2 separate regions of the Homo sapiens genome follow, and region 2 is linked to region 1. The links are contacts of gene promoters, found by promoter capture Hi-C in blood cells and fetal thymus (Javierre and others, 2016). All regions are on one chromosome and are shown on one strand. The core of a region is centred on a gene start or on the middle of the fragment in contact, and the rest is flanking DNA. Distances in the headings are between cores, read along the strand shown.

Evidence for each region. The method cuts DNA at HindIII sites, captures the fragments that hold promoters and counts their contacts. A CHiCAGO score of 5 or more calls a contact.
Region 2: a contact is called between a fragment that was not itself captured here and the fragment with the promoter of YWHAE in region 1, in 1 of 17 cell types (neutrophils). The highest score is 5.6, in neutrophils.

Annotation. Positions count from the first base shown.
Region 1 is chr17:1,398,971-1,401,670 of GRCh38, reverse strand. YWHAE (tyrosine 3-monooxygenase/tryptophan 5-monooxygenase activation protein epsilon) reads left to right here and starts at 1,449. Exons shown (of 6, transcript NM_006761.5): 1 at 1,449-1,624. The coding sequence starts at 1,561. RefSeq lists enhancers at 1-8, 951-1,588, 1,589-2,226, 2,227-2,700. The HindIII fragment of the contact is 7,246 bases long and covers 1-2,700 here.
Region 2 is chr17:1,676,751-1,679,450 of GRCh38, reverse strand. It overlaps PRPF8 (pre-mRNA processing factor 8), which reads left to right. Exons shown (of 43, transcript NM_006445.4): 10 at 41-160; 11 at 245-434; 12 at 570-689; 13 at 799-933; 14 at 1,757-1,886; 15 at 2,279-2,475. Among named protein-coding and RNA genes, the nearest start is that of PRPF8, 6.8 kb to the left of the region's middle. The HindIII fragment of the contact is 3,942 bases long and covers 1-2,700 here.

The DNA of each region.
Region 1 (2,700 bases), core at 200-2,699:
TTGGTCCAACTCTTCTGTACCATGTACTCCACACCACCCTCATCTAACAAATTCCCTGCTCCTATTCATAGTGGGCCTAGGGAGGGAAAAAGGTTAAACAGGAGAAGACAAAGATCAGTGTGAGGGGAAAGTTGAGGCGTGAAAACTGGAGCTCCCCTGTCCCTGACAACTGTAACAGGGCCCAGTTCGTTTTTTTTCTTTTTCTTTGTTTTGAGACAGAGTTGTGCTCTTGTTGCCCAGGCTGGAGTGCAATGGTGTGCTCTCGGTTCACTGCACCCTCCCACTCCCGGGTTCAAGCGATTCTCCTGCCTCAGCCTCTGGAGTAGCTGGGATTACAGGCATGCACCACCACGCCCAGCTAATTTTTGTATATATATATAATTTTTCTTTTGAAACACAGTCTCACACTGTCGCCTGGGCTGGAGTGCAATGGGAGGATCTCGGCTCACTGTAACCTCCGCCTCCCGGGTTCAAGAGATTCTCCTGCCTCAGCCTCCTGAGTAGCTGGGATGACAGGCATGCACCACCATGCCAAGCTAATTTTTTGTATTTTTAGTAGAGACGGGGTTTCACTATATTGGCCAGGCTGGTCTCGAACTCCTGACCTTGTGATCCTCCCGCCTTGGCCTCCCAAAGTGCTGGGATGACAGGCATGAGCCGCCGCGCCCGGCCAGGGCCCGGTTCGTTACCCTGAGTCTAAAAGTGTCTGAAAAAGGCCCATGACCAGGCTTGGCCGAGAAAACTAGGACGTGGGCTGGGCGCGGTGGCTCACCCCTGGAATCCCAGCGCTTTGGGAGGCCGAGGGGGGGCGGATCATCTGAGGTCGGGAGTTCGAGACCAGCCTGGCCAACATGGTGAAACCCCATCTCTATTAAAAATACAAAAGCTGGGGGTGGTGGCGGGGGCCTGAAATCCCAGCTACTCGAGAGGCTGAGGCAGCAGAATCACTTGAACCCGGGAAGGCGGACGTTGTGGTAACCCGAGATCGCACCACTGCACTCCAGCCTGGGGAACAAGAGGGAAACTCCGTCTCAAAAAGAAAAAAGAAAAAAGAAAAAAGAAAAGAAAACCAGGGCGCGGTAGTGACAGCCTCAGATTTCGGGAAAGAAGACCTGCCATGACAGAAACCGTTACAGCCTCCGTCGTTCTTTTCCGCAGGTCGGGCCTCGGGCCCCGGTCTGACCCAGGTCTCTCGCTGGCTTTTTTCAGGAGCAGTCCCGGCCGGCCCCGCCTCAGCCCTTCTCGTTCCCCGGGGGCCGCTCCCTTTCGGCAGTCGCAGTTCCCGCCTCTGGGCTCCGGCGCCCGCTGAGCCGACAGAGGAGAGGCGTCTCGTGCGCTCGTTCCAGCCGCTTCGGGCGCCGAGTTCCAGGACCCGCCCCCCGCGCCAGTTGCCAGGGAGCGGTTGCCATAGAGCTGAGCAGTTGTCCGCGTGCGCAGGCGGAAGTCCCGGATTGAGGCGCCGCCATTTTTGCTGCCCGGACGCGGAGCGAGAGGCTGAGAGAGTCGGAGACACTATCCGCTTCCATCCGTCGCGCAGACCCTGCCGGAGCCGCTGCCGCTATGGATGATCGAGAGGATCTGGTGTACCAGGCGAAGCTGGCCGAGCAGGCTGAGCGATACGACGGTGAGTTGGGGGGGCAACGGGGGGCTGGAATTCTCGGACCCTCTGCCGCCGCCCACAGAGGCCGGGAACAGGAGACAAAATGGCGGCATCGTCTGCGAGCCTGGCCCGGGGGCTTGGGTTCGGGAAGCAGGAAATGGCCTGGGAGCTCCCGGGGCGATGGGAGGCTCTATGCCCTGGAATGTGACCCCTTCGCCGTCCTTAACTGCAAACAACTCGCGGGCCGGGAGGCCGGGGCGACGGGGTGGAGGAGTTGGTTGTAAAATGGCGGCTGGGGGGAGGGCGAGTCCCGGGGCGGGGGAGGGGGAGGAGATGGCGGGTGCTGTCTCCGAACGAGCCACCCTCATGGGAGCTTCTGGGACGGCCTTGGGATGTGGAGAACAATTGGGTGGGGTGACGGGGGAAGCAGCACCCGCCACATGGGAGAGAGCGAAGACCGGGAGCTGTAGCGCGGGCGCCTTTCAGGGAAATATGGCGGGTGGGGGCGGTGGCTTTTCCCCGGAGGCCCCGTGTGGGGCGGCGGCCGTGGAGTCTCACAAAGGAGGACCTTTGAGAGCGATGGGCTTCCTCAGGCCTGAGGTGGGGGACAGTCGTGGATGATGGTGGGGGGAGAGGGGTGAGTGGGAATCACTGCAGTTCGTCTTCGGGCGGTGGCAGGCTCCCATGCTGCGATCGGGTTTCTTTCCCGTAGGCCGGCACCTCGTAGTGAGGGGTTTCGGGGCTTTTCCTCCTCGTCGTCTTCTGGGGAGGCCCAGAAAATCCTCACTCCCTCCCTTTCCTCAGACTTAAAACAGGAGATCTCGAAGTTCCTGTAACCTTTCTCTGGCTCCATCACCCGTGGGTTCTGATGGATAGAACCAGGAGGCCACGACTCTGAGAGTTCGAGCCTTTGTAGAGCCCGAGCCTCCGTCCCCCCGTTTGTAAAAACGATGACTTTACAGTTTGTGCGCACCGTGATGACAAATGGGAAGACCTGTTGAAATAAAGTTATTTCCAATAGTGTTCAGTAACTGTATTTTGGTTGACTCTGCAGGCTCGGAATGCTGGTCTGTACTTCGTGGGGGATCTTAACCTATTCC
Region 2 (2,700 bases), core at 19-2,518, 280 kb before region 1:
AAGAAGAGATGGCCAAACTCTGGTGGGCTTATTTTTCCAGGTATCGGGAGCATTGTCCTGCCGGGCAGCCTGTGAAAGTGAGGGTCTCCTACCAGAAGCTGCTTAAGTACTATGTGCTGAATGCCCTGAAGCATCGGCCCCCTAAGGCTCAAAAGAAGAGGTAAGGTGCCCCAGGGGCCCTGCGCAGACTTCTGTTCCAGAGATATCAGTAGGCTGACTCTTACTCTCCATGTTCCCACCTCAGGTATTTGTTCCGCTCCTTCAAAGCCACCAAATTCTTTCAGTCCACAAAGCTGGACTGGGTGGAGGTTGGGCTCCAGGTTTGCCGCCAGGGCTACAACATGCTCAACCTTCTCATTCACCGCAAAAACCTCAACTACCTGCACCTGGACTACAACTTCAACCTCAAGCCTGTGAAAACGCTCACCACCAAGGTGCCTGCATTGGACCCTAGGGGCCTCCTGGGCTTCAAGGACGGACAGTTGTTTTCCTCTGGTTACTGATGAAGGCATACATCAGTTGGGTCCATTGCTCATTCACGTTCTGTCTGTTTTTTGCATCTTCTCCAGGAAAGAAAGAAATCTCGTTTTGGGAATGCTTTCCACCTGTGTCGGGAAGTTCTGCGTTTGACTAAGCTGGTGGTGGATAGTCACGTGCAGTATCGGCTGGGCAATGTGGATGCCTTCCAGGTAAGGTTAGGTATTCCCAACCCCTGCCTGGGTGAGGACGCTGGAGGAAGCCTGTGCTGACCGTGGAGCTGGTTTAAGCTCCAGGTCTGATGGGGCAATTGTATTGCAGCTGGCAGATGGATTGCAGTATATATTTGCCCATGTTGGGCAGTTGACGGGCATGTATCGATACAAATACAAGCTGATGCGACAGATTCGCATGTGCAAGGACCTGAAGCATCTCATCTATTATCGTTTCAACACGGTGAGACCTTGACTTTACTGACTTTCTTTTTTTTGAGACAGAGTCTTACTCTTGTCTCTTGGGCTGGTGTGCAATGGCACGATCTTGGCTCACTGCAACCTCCGCCTCCTGAGTTCAAGCAATTCTCCTGCCTCAGCCTCCCGAGTAGCTGGGATTACAGGTGCCCGCCACCACGCCTGGCAATTTTTTTTTTGTTTTGTTTTGAAACTGAGTCTTTCTCTGTTGCCCCAGCTGGAGTACAATGGCACGATCTTGGCTCACCACAGCCTCCGCCTCCCGGGTTGAAGTGATTCTCCTGCTTCAGCCTCCCAAGTAGCTGGGACTACAGGCGCGCACCACCATGCCTGGCTAGTTTTTGAAATTTTAGTAGAGATGGGGTTTCACTGTATTGGCCAGGCTGGTCTTGAACTCCTGACCTCAGGTGATCCACACTCCTCGGCCTCCCAAAGTACTGGGATTACCAGCGTGAGTCACCGTGCCCAGCCTCACTGGACTTAACTTTCTCAGATCTTTTTTCATGTATACATTTAGACAGGGCTCTTTCCAGGGACCTATTTGGAGAGCAGCTATGACTGTGTCCTTACTGCTCCTTTAAATTCACATGGGCGATCTTAGTTCCTGGTTTTTGCCTTAAGGTTTCTCATTTACCCTTTTGTTTTAGATGTTGAGGTCCCAGAGTTTTTTTTTCTTTTTACCCCTCTACTGCCATACCTACATTCCTCTGTATGTATATTATACATATATGCCCCACCTCTGCCCAGGTTTCTATTGTTGTTTAAATGCATTGCTAACTTGTATTCTTAACTTCTGCTTGGGATCGTAGGGCCCTGTAGGGAAGGGTCCTGGCTGTGGCTTCTGGGCTGCCGGTTGGCGAGTCTGGCTCTTTTTCATGCGTGGCATTACCCCTTTATTAGAGCGATGGCTTGGCAACCTCCTGGCCCGGCAGTTTGAAGGTGAGTGGTTTTCTCTGTGTCCAACTTCTCCTGTTATTGCTTCAAAAGTACCTGCCCCTGTTTGAGTCTGTTCCCTGCTCTTGTATGAGCACTCTTCCTACTGGATTGCCTTTAGGTCCAGTTCTGAAATGAGTCTGACCTAGTATTCTATTTCTTGGGCTTCCTTCTGGGGCCTTGAGAGGCAGTCATGCATTTGCAGGAGTGGAAATTCCTCAGAAGCATAGTTGTGAATGTTTAAGGTAGCTCGTCTTTTTGCATATGCTGGGCACAGGGACGCTTTGTTAATACCTAATTTTATTAATAACCATAATGAGTGAGGAGCATGAAGGTAGAGACCCTTATTGAAAGCAAGGAATCTTCCTTGTAATCCCCTTGGGACACTCTACTTCCAGGTCGACACTCAAAGGGGGTGGCAAAGACAGTAACAAAGCAGCGAGTGGAGTCACATTTTGACCTTGAGCTGCGGGCAGCTGTGATGCATGATATTCTGGACATGATGCCTGAGGGGATCAAGCAGAACAAGGCCCGGACAATCCTGCAGCACCTCAGTGAAGCCTGGCGCTGCTGGAAAGCCAACATTCCCTGGAAGGTGGGTGTCTCTTTATTTCCTTGGAGGCGTAAACATCCGTCTTTAGGGTAGGATTACCACTTCGGGAATCATTAGGGGGCTATCTGGCTCCAATCTCTTTTCTTTTCCCTTTTAGACAGGGAAAAGAAGCACCATGTTGCTTAGGCTGGCCTCAAGCTCCTGAGCTCAAGCGATCCTCCTTAGCCTCCTGAGTAGCCGGGACTACAGATGTGTGCCACAGTGCCT